Linked DNA regions of Homo sapiens: region 2 is linked to region 1. Evidence: promoter capture Hi-C in 16 types of primary human blood cells and fetal thymus (Javierre and others, 2016). All regions are on one chromosome and are shown on one strand. The core of a region is centred on a gene start or on the middle of the fragment in contact, and the rest is flanking DNA. Distances in the headings are between cores, read along the strand shown. Region 1 holds the start of GK5 (glycerol kinase 5). Region 2 holds the start of TRPC1 (transient receptor potential cation channel subfamily C member 1).

Region 1 (4,738 bases), core at 745-3,244:
CGCCTGAGCCCGGGAGGTCGAGGCTGCAGTGAGCTGAGATGGCACCACAGCACTCCAGCCTGGGCGACAGAGCAAGACCCTGTCTAAAAAAAGTTTTGATTCAAAATGAGTATGTATGTATGTATGTATGTAAGTATGTATGTATGTATGTATGTATGTATGTATGTATGTATGTATGTATTTTGAGGCAGAGTCTTGCTCTGTCGCCCAGGCTGGAGTGCAGTGGCATGATCTCGGCTCACTGCAACCTCCGCCTCCCGGCTTCAAGTAATTCTCCTGCCTCAGCCTCCCCCGTAGCTGGGATTGCAGGAGCCCGCTACCACGCCCGGCTAAGTTTTGTATTTTTGTAGAGACGGGGTTTCACCATGTTGCCCAGGCTGCTCTCAAACTCCTGACCTCAAGTGATCCGCCCGCCTCGGCCTCCGAAAGTGCTGGGATTACAGTCGTGAGCCCCCGCGCCCAGCCAAAATGATTATCTTTTACCTTTTAATTGACATACCAGTTGGCACTGTTAAACGTTTTCACACAAAACATATATTCATATGTTTGCTAATTTTACAAAAAGAAGATAAGGAATATTTTCAGGCCCCGGCTTCACAGATTGCTGGTGGCAGTGGAGAGGTGGGTGGCGCAGGTGGAACCACCTCCCCACTACTTGCAGATCAGGACCCTCCCCGGGAAAGCTCCAGGCCCAGGAACCTAAGCCGCAAGAATCTCGAAATTTCCACAGGACACCTTGTTCCTTTTGGCCAAGTGTCTGGATGAGCCCATCCCCTTGGGCAGCAACAAAAGGTAAAGGGTCTCTGTGAGGCTTTCAGATTCCAAAAAAAAGCAACCGCTGGAGTGGAGTGTGATGGTCAAAGCAGCCACCTTAAGCTTTCTCCTTTCTTTCCCACTAGAGGGCTGAGAAAAGTCTTCTTCCTTGCGTTGTATTTCATTTGGCAAATATTTACCGCTTTGTATTGTGTGCAAACTTTACCAGGTTTTCTGGGAAGAGAAGTCGTGGGGAGCTCTCAGTTTGTTAATAAATATTAATACTTTTGGCCAAATTTTGAATTTTTTATGTCACTTGTTTTATTTCATTTTTGAAAAACAGCACTTTATTTCATTTAACTCTAGCATATTCAATGGCTGTGCATTTAATAATACTGAAATAAAGTCGCACCCAAAATGTTAGCAAAAAAATGGAAACTATATATGGTAGTGACCTCTACAAATGTTTTAAGCTTGAAAAATTCTGCACGAACGCAGACACAGGTTAGTCTGCCAAAGTTACTCAGATAAAAATTTCTCCAACCCTCAAGTCATAATCATAGTTGAGAAATGAATAAATGTGCCTTATGGCACCTCCAAACTTTTTGAGATTTTTATATAAACTAGCCTATACTTCTCTCCTTACGATTAGCATATGGGGTAGCTATTTTTCTTTAACAGAGATTCTTCAAATGTAGCTAGGGTTAAGAGAAACGCTGGCGCTGCCTCTCAGGAAGCTGGAGAAGCAAAAGAAAAAATTAAGAGTTAAGGGCCGCCGGGCTCGGTGGCTCACGCCTGCAATCGCAGCAATTTGGGAAGCCGAGGCGAGCGGATCACGAGATCAGGAGATCGAGACCAGCCTGATCAACATGGTGAAACCCCTTCTCTACTAAAAATACAAAAATAGCCGGGCGTGGTGGAGCGCGCCTGTAATCCCAGCTACTCGGGAGGCTGAGGCAAGAGAATCGCTTGAACCCGGGAGGCGGAGGTTGCAGTGAGCCGAGATCGCGCCACCGCACTCCAGCCGGGGCGACAGAGTGAGACTCCGTCTCAAAAAGAAAAAAAACAAGAGTTAAGGGCCAAGTCAATCCAACCGCGGCCGGCGACTGGAGGCTGAGCATGGCTGGCGATCTGGGGCTGCAGATCACGGCGCAAACCCGCTCACCTCCACCCCTCCCGCGCGGCCGCCGGCGCGCGCCCGTGGCGTCACGGCGTCGGGGTGGAGCCGGCGGCAGGGGCCAGGCCTCTCTAGGCTCTCCGGCTGAGCCGGGTTGGGGCCCGGGTTGGGCCGCCCGGGGACTCTGGAGCATTGGGATTTGTAGCGCGCCCTCTGGGTAGGCGGCTGTAGCGGAGAGGCGTGCGGGATCGGGATGTCGGGGCTGCTCACGGACCCGGAGCAGAGAGCGCAGGAGCCGCGGTACCCCGGCTTCGTGCTGGGGCTGGATGTGGGCAGTTCTGTGATCCGCTGCCACGTCTATGACCGGGCGGCGCGGGTCTGCGGCTCCAGCGTGCAGAAGGTGACTTGGGGGCGGGCGTGGGGCGCGGGTCTGACTGGGTTTCGCTGAGTCCCGGGGTCCGGCCTCGGGAGGCGAGCGGGCAGGCCCCACCTACCGCCCTGGACGCGGCCACCTGCAGCACCCGCGGGCCCTGGGGCCAGAACGGCGCGCCCAGACCGGCTGAGTCTTCGCGTTCCCTCCCTCGTCTGGGCTGAATCCCGCGCGCCCTTCCTGTCCAGGCTGAGGGTGCCAGGGGCCCGGTGTATGACCTGGGCCGCTCGCTTGCCTCTTGCCACCTGGGGAGCCACCTGTCCGGCCTTACCTGGATGGGACTGAGGTGACTCGCCGGACGGGACTGGGCAGGCTGTGCACATCCAGCCAGAGGGTGGTTTGTGAGTTGCTTGGTTCTTCCTGCACTTCCCTGATAGATCTCCCACCACATCTTTATTTACATTTTAATTTTTCAAAACTTTTTTTCTTTTTTCTTTATTATAGCCTTTGGACTTGTGCCTCAATAACTTTTCATATCTTTGTAGAATTTAAGTTTATTCTCTATTCTTCACTTGTCATCTTTATTAACTACTACTCCACAAAATGCTGGTTCCTTACGTGAGCAACTGATTGCCGTGGATATTAGAGGTATTGGGCAAGTTTTGAAGGCTGTGTGGTCATCAGTTTTCTATTTTCCATCTTTGAGAATTCATAAAATTCTTTATTTCCCCTCGTTTGAGAGACCTGCCAAATCATTGGTTGGTTGTTAGTAAAGCCTTGAATTGTTGATAATATTGGTCAGCAACCAACAAATTGATATCCTTCTGTTCTCATATTAATGAAGTGTTGATTTATACACAATTGTCAATGCACCAAAAATAATATTTATTTGTTATGGTGTTCTTATTGTTGTTCCTTTTTTTCTTTTGAGACAGGGTCTCACTTTGTCACCCAGGCTGGAGTGCAGTGCTGTGATCTCGGCTCACTGCAGCTTTGACCTCCTGGGCTCAAGTGATCCTTCCACCTCAGCCCCCCAAGTAGCTGGGACTACAGGCAAGGGGCCACCATGCCTGGCTAAATTTGTTTGTATTTTTTAATAGAGATGGGATTTTGCCATGTTGCCCAGGCTGGTCTGGAAATTCCTGGGCTCAAATAATTCACCCGCCTCGGCCTCCCTAAGTGCCAAGATTACAGGCGTGAGCCACTGCAGCCAGCCTGTTATGGTGTTCTTATTTTCTCTTCCCAGTACCAACATCTTTTTATGTTAGAAATTTGAGGGAGGGCCGGAGCCATCAGTTACCTAACCATTCCCAGCAGCACTGTATTCCCCCTTTTTCTCAGTGTCCCGTTCTTCTTCCCACCACCTTAGAGGTGTTTTTCTTTGTAGCACTTGCCCAGGAGCAAGGTCCAGCTAGAGTGCCAGTGAGTAGTGACTGCTTTGAGCATTTGTTCTGGGGAAACATCAGACTTCCTTCCATTAAGTTTTTCTTTTTTTTCTTTTTAGACGGAGTCTCGCTCTGTCACCCAGGCTGGAGTGCAATGGCATGATCTCGGCTCACTGCAACCTCTGCCTCCTAGGTTCAAGCAAGTCTCCTGCCTCAGCCTCCTGAGTAGCTGGGATTGCAGGCACCCGCCATCATGCCTGGCTAATTTTTGTATTTTTGTAGAGACAGGGTTTCGCCATGTTGGCCAGGCTGGTCTTGAACTCTTGACCTCAGGTGAACCGCCTGCCTCAGCCTCCCAGAGCACTGGGATTATAGGCGTGTGCCACTGTGCCCGGCCTCCATTCAGGTTTCAGGACCAAGACAGTGGAACTGGGATTGTAGCAGCTCCCTGGTCCCTTCTCTGGCTAGCTGTGTGGGAACACTGCCCACCCACCCACACACTATCCCTATCCCAGCCTGAAAAGAAAAATGAAAGGCAGACACCACCCTTCAGTGACTGGGTACTCATTACCTTTCTAAGAGTATTTATCACAAAAACGATACTTTTTAAAGTCTCCCTTATAATTCTAGACACAAAGTACTTTTAAGCACTGTTTTTTTGTTTGTTTTTGTTTTTCTTTTAAGGAATTGAAATATTTGGAACCAAAGGGAGAAATGAATTACTAGAAAATGCAAAGTTTCACAGTTAATATATAATTTGGGGCAGATCATTAGTTTTTTTAGGAATGAAGTGAGGAATCTCAAAGATGGATCAAGATTGCTGTGAGTGGCAGGAGGCCAGGAAGATTTGCACAGACTCTAAACTGTGGAAAATGTGTCTGGATAAAAGAAAGATATGAGTAAATAAAAATACAAAAAAAATGCCTGCTCTTCCCGGATAAAGCACAGTCGTAGATTAAGAAATGTGCAGCAATGCCTCTCTGTGTGGTAGGAGTTTATAGCAGTACTGCTTAAAGTGTAGTTACGGGGCTGCTGGGATTGAGATAATAAAAGAAAACTAAGCATTTAGAAACTTGTGTAGCAACTTAGCAGAATAATTTTATGTCTATTGAC
Region 2 (4,738 bases), core at 1,059-3,558, 500 kb before region 1:
TAATCCTAAATATACACAATGCACAAATACTTGCTCAACCATATTCCACTGATATTTTTCTGTCCTCAGTTTGACAGGAATATCAAATTTCCTTTCTTGACATACTTTCTGTTTGCTTTAAAATAACCATTGCACAGTGAGCTGGAATACATGGAGCCAGCACTTACTCATTTTAGTACAACACAATCTTCTCCCCTTCCTCTCTCAGAACTTTTGAGGGAAGAGAACTCAGGCAACCCACTCCAGCAATACTAAATAATTTTACATAATCCACAGACCCTATTTTTGTGACGTTGTAGATGTATATTCTGTTTCTTTACATCTCAAAGACTGCTCAAAGTTGTGTCCATGGTGTACTTTAACAATATTATTAATATTGCTTTCATAATATTATTTAATACTATTACATAAGAACATAAAAATGGCTCAACCACAGACATAGGTGGACTTTGTTTATATGTCAATTGTTTTCAAAAAATCATGTAAATAAAATCCTATTTCAAAAGCAGGAGGAGAGGTTAGGAAGGCTGTCATTTATTAATTACACATTCACACATACAAACAAACAAACAAAAATCCTGTGTAGTTAGTCTTTTCATAGTGTAAACTGCCCTTTGGGTTTGTTCCAGAAGTTTGCATGTTTCTAACAGAGTTTTCCTAAGTGTACAGCCATATAAATTTGGAAAAAGAAAAATTTTAGTGTTTCCATGTAGGAAACAAAAGCAGTCTTAGGGCAATCAATTTCCTATCCCTTTTGTTATATACATCACTACAAAGGATGATTGCGTGACATGGCCTTAATATGGCCATAAAAATGATTAACTTCTAGACTAAAAAAAGGATAACGCGCTAAATATATTCCACATATTTTTGCCTTGTAATTCCTGTAATTATTTTTCACTATCTTTATCTCCCAAAGAAAGATCTGGGAGCAATAAATCTTTCTCTCCAATAAAAAGCACTAACAATCAAAGGCGTTCCGTAAATCCAGAGAAAGTTTTGGCAACTAAGGCAGAATTTCTTCCGTCCCGTCCTTACTTCATGTATCTCCACCTAGGATATTCCGTTATTAATGCCAGTCAACAGTCACTGGCTAAAGCACTGGTCAGGTGAAGCTAAATAATAGAGGGTCTGGTTTTGTTTTTAAGAAAAACAAAAACCAGGTGATGAGAACCCTCCATACGAGGCATCCTAAGGTAAGGTGACGGAATTTTCCGACTGGAGTGTCGGAAACTAGCCTCTCGACTCCCGGAAGGAATGAACTGCGAGCCAGAGAGAAGACCAGGTCATTCATGCGGTCAGTAGCAAGGGCGGCGCTAAAACGCTGGGGTCGGGGCTCCCAAGGCGCTACCTAAACCCCGGACCCCAAGGCCAGAGCCACCCCCGACGGTGCAGCGCTCCGAGGGCGCAGCCCCAGCTCCACTCTCCCGCCAGCTCCACACTCACAGGGCAGAGGCGGTGAGGAGAAGACCGCCTGAGGCAGCAGGCGAGGCGGGAAGACACTCGGCGCCTGAGACAGAGGGAATGCCCCGATATAAGTTGAGGCGGGGGAGAGGACTAAAGGTCTGGAGGACAGGGGCGTCCAGAGGAGAAAGGGGCCTAACTCTCACCCTTGTCGCACGCCAGCAAGAAAAGCTTCTCATTCAGCGTATTCTCCTCCTTCACCTCCCGCACATCCTTCAGCGCCATCACCTCGTTCGGCGAGGAAGAGGATGGAGAGGAAGGCAGGGAGGAGGAGGAGGCGCCCGAGAGGTCCGTGCTCGGGTACAGGGCCGCCATCATCGCGGCCCATGAAGGGGGCAGGCCAGGAGACGGGGGCGGGGCCCCCACCGGCCCCGACCCCGACCCCGACCCCAGCCACGCCCCAGGGCTGGAAAAAGGATGAGTCGTTCCCACTGCTGCCTCGGCTCGAGGCCCGTTGGCCCCGAAGGGCGTCGCCTCCCCTGAGAACCAGCACTCGCCCTCCACTGACAGCCCCAAGTTGGTGGCGGCGCATGCGCGGCCCCGGGGCCAGCGACCCCTCCCCAGCCGCCGGCGCCCCGGCCGAGCCGGTCCGCGCCCGTCCGGGGACGACAGTGTGGCGCGCGCCAGGGCGGCAGCCGAGCACGGGGCCGTGCCAGGAGTCGCAGGGGCCGCGCCTGGGGCGGCCTAGCCCAGGAAGAGGACGAGAGATCTGTGGGAGAGGAGCTCCAAGAGGCGCTTCTGCGCACGTTGGGCTCCAGGGCTGTGGGAACCGCTGGCCCAGCTGCGCTCCGAGGAGATGTTCGCGACTCTGTCCTCACGTCATCCTCTGCTCCTCTGTAGCGACGACACTAGGGAGGAGCCTGCGGCAAGGGCGGGCTTGGGTGGGCGGGGCCTGCGGCAAGCGGGGCGTGGGTGGGTGGGGCCTGCGGTGGGGACGCACTGGGCTCCTGGAGCCCGCTGCAGCTTCCTTCGCTCTGGTGAGGTGAACCGCAGTCTGAGGAAGACTTCGCTCAATCGTCCCTTTCCACACCCAGGGTACTGGTTTAAGGTAATTAAGCAAATATGGAGCAGTATGTTAATTGAGTCTCTGACGACTTAATGTTTAGTCGAAATCCTTTGTGGAATTGTCCAGCTATTTCATATTCTGGTGCACTATGCTTTAAAGCACAATGGAGAGCCAGACTCGTGGGTTTGTATGTTGTACTCATTTTAGGCTGGAAATGAACTCTCATTTATAAAGGATATATAGATATATAATTATATTATGTTTAAATAATTTATACAAATATATAAATTTTTATTTCCATATTATTTCCATAGGTTTTTGAGGAACAGGTGGTGTTTGGTTACATGAGTAAGTTCTTTAGTGATGATTTGTGAGATTTTGATGTACCCATCATCGAGCAGTATACACTGAACCTAATTTTGTAGTCTTTTATCCCTCTCCCCCTTCCCAACCTTTCCCCGAGTCCCGAAAGTCCATTGTGTCATTCCTATGCCTTTGCATCCTCAAAGCTTAGCTCTCACTTGTGAGTGAGAACATACGATGTTTGGTTTTCCATTCCTGAGTTACTTCATTTAGAATAAGAATAATAGTCTCCAGTCCCATCCAGGTTTCTGCGAATGCCATTTATTCATTCCTTTTTATGGCTGAGTAGTATTCCATCATTATATATATATCACATATATATATACCACATATATATATATATATATATATATCACAGTTTCTTTATCCACTCATTGATTCATGGGCATTTGGGTTGGCTCCACATTTTTGCAATTGCGAATTGTGCTGCTATAAATATGCATGGGCAAGTATCTTTTTCGTGTAATGACTTCTTTTCCTCTGGGTAGATACCCAGTAGTGGGATTACTGGATCAAATGGTAGTTCTACTTTTAGTTCTCTAAGGAATCTCCACACTGTTTTCCATAGTGGTGTACTAGTTTACAGTCCCACCAGTAATGTAGAAGTGTTCCCTTTTCACCGCATCCACACCAACAGCTATTATTTTTTGATTTTTTTGATTATGGCCATTCTTGCGGAAGTAGGGTGGTACATACGGCATAGCAGTTTTGACTTGGAATTCCCTGATCATTAGTGATCTTGAGCATTTTTTCATATGTTTGTTGGCCATTTGTGTATCTTCTTTTGAGAATTGTCTATTCATGTTTTTTTGTTTTTTCTTGAGACAGAGTTTTGCTCTTGTTGCCCAGGCTGGAGTGCAATGGCGTGATCTTGGCTCACCGCAACTTCCGCCTCCCAGGTTCAAGTGATTCTCCTGCCTCAGCCTTCCGACCAGCTGGTATTACCGGCATGTGCCACCACACCCGGCTAATTTTGTATTTTTAGTAGAGACAGTGTTTCTCCCTGTTGGTCAGGCTGGTCTCGAACTCCAGACCTCAGGTGATCTGCCTGCCTCAGCCTCCCAAAGTGCTGGGATTACAAGCATGAGCCACTGCCCCCAGCCCTTTTCATGTTTTTAGCCCAGTTTTTGTTAGGATTTTTTTTTTCTTGATTATTTGTTTGAATTCATTGTAGATTCTGGATAGTAGTCCTTTGTCAGATGCATAGATTATGAAGATTTTCTCCCACTCTGTGGGTTGTCTGTTTACTCTGCTAACTCTTCCCTTTGCCATGCAAAAGCTCTTTCATTTAATCAAGTCCCAGCTATTTATCTTTCTTTTCATTGCATTTGCTTTTGGGTTCTTGGTCATGAAATCCTTGCCTAAGCCAATGTCTACAAGGGGTTTTCCGATGTTATCTTCTAGAATTTTTATAGTTTCAGGTCTTAGATTTAAGTTCTTGATCCATCTTGAGTTTATTTTTGTATAAGGTGAGAGATGCAGATCCAGTTTTATTCTCCTACGTGTGGCTTGCCAATTATCCCAGCACCATTTGTTGAATAGGGTGTCTTTTCCCCCACTTTATGTTTTTGTTTGCTTTGTTGAAAATCAGTCGGCTGTAAGTATTTGGGTTTATTTCTGGGTTCTCTATTCTGTTCCATTGGTCTATATGCCTATTTTTATGCCAGTACCATGCTGTTTTGGTGACAGTAGCCTTATAGTATAGTTTGAAATCAGGTAATGTGATGTCTCCAGATTTGTTCTTTTCGCTTCATCTTGCATTGGCTATGCAGGCTCTTTTTTGGTTCCATATGGATTTTAGGATTATTTTTTCTAGTTCTGTGAAGAATGATGGTGGTATTTTGATGGGAATTGCATTGAATTTGTAGATTGCTTTTGGCAGTATGGTCATTTTCACAATGTTGA

The links. Contacts are between HindIII fragments. The CHiCAGO score rates a contact against its expected background, and 5 or more counts as called.
Region 2: a contact is called between the fragment with the promoter of TRPC1 here and the fragment with the promoter of GK5 in region 1, in 7 of 17 cell types (activated CD4 T cells, total B cells, non-activated CD4 T cells and 4 more). The highest score is 8.3, in activated CD4 T cells.

Annotation. Positions count from the first base shown.
Region 1 is chr3:142,222,841-142,227,578 of GRCh38, reverse strand. GK5 (glycerol kinase 5) reads left to right here and starts at 1,994. Exons shown (of 16, transcript NM_001039547.3): 1 at 1,994-2,270. The coding sequence starts at 2,124. RefSeq lists silencers at 1,811-2,050, 2,241-2,460. The HindIII fragment of the contact is 7,101 bases long and covers 1,229-4,738 here.
Region 2 is chr3:142,721,604-142,726,341 of GRCh38, reverse strand. It overlaps TRPC1 (transient receptor potential cation channel subfamily C member 1), which reads right to left and starts at 2,308. Exons shown (of 13, transcript NM_001251845.2): 1 at 1,611-2,308. The coding sequence starts at 1,782. RefSeq lists an enhancer at 890-1,756 and a silencer at 2,015-2,064. The HindIII fragment of the contact is 1,344 bases long and covers 1,638-2,981 here.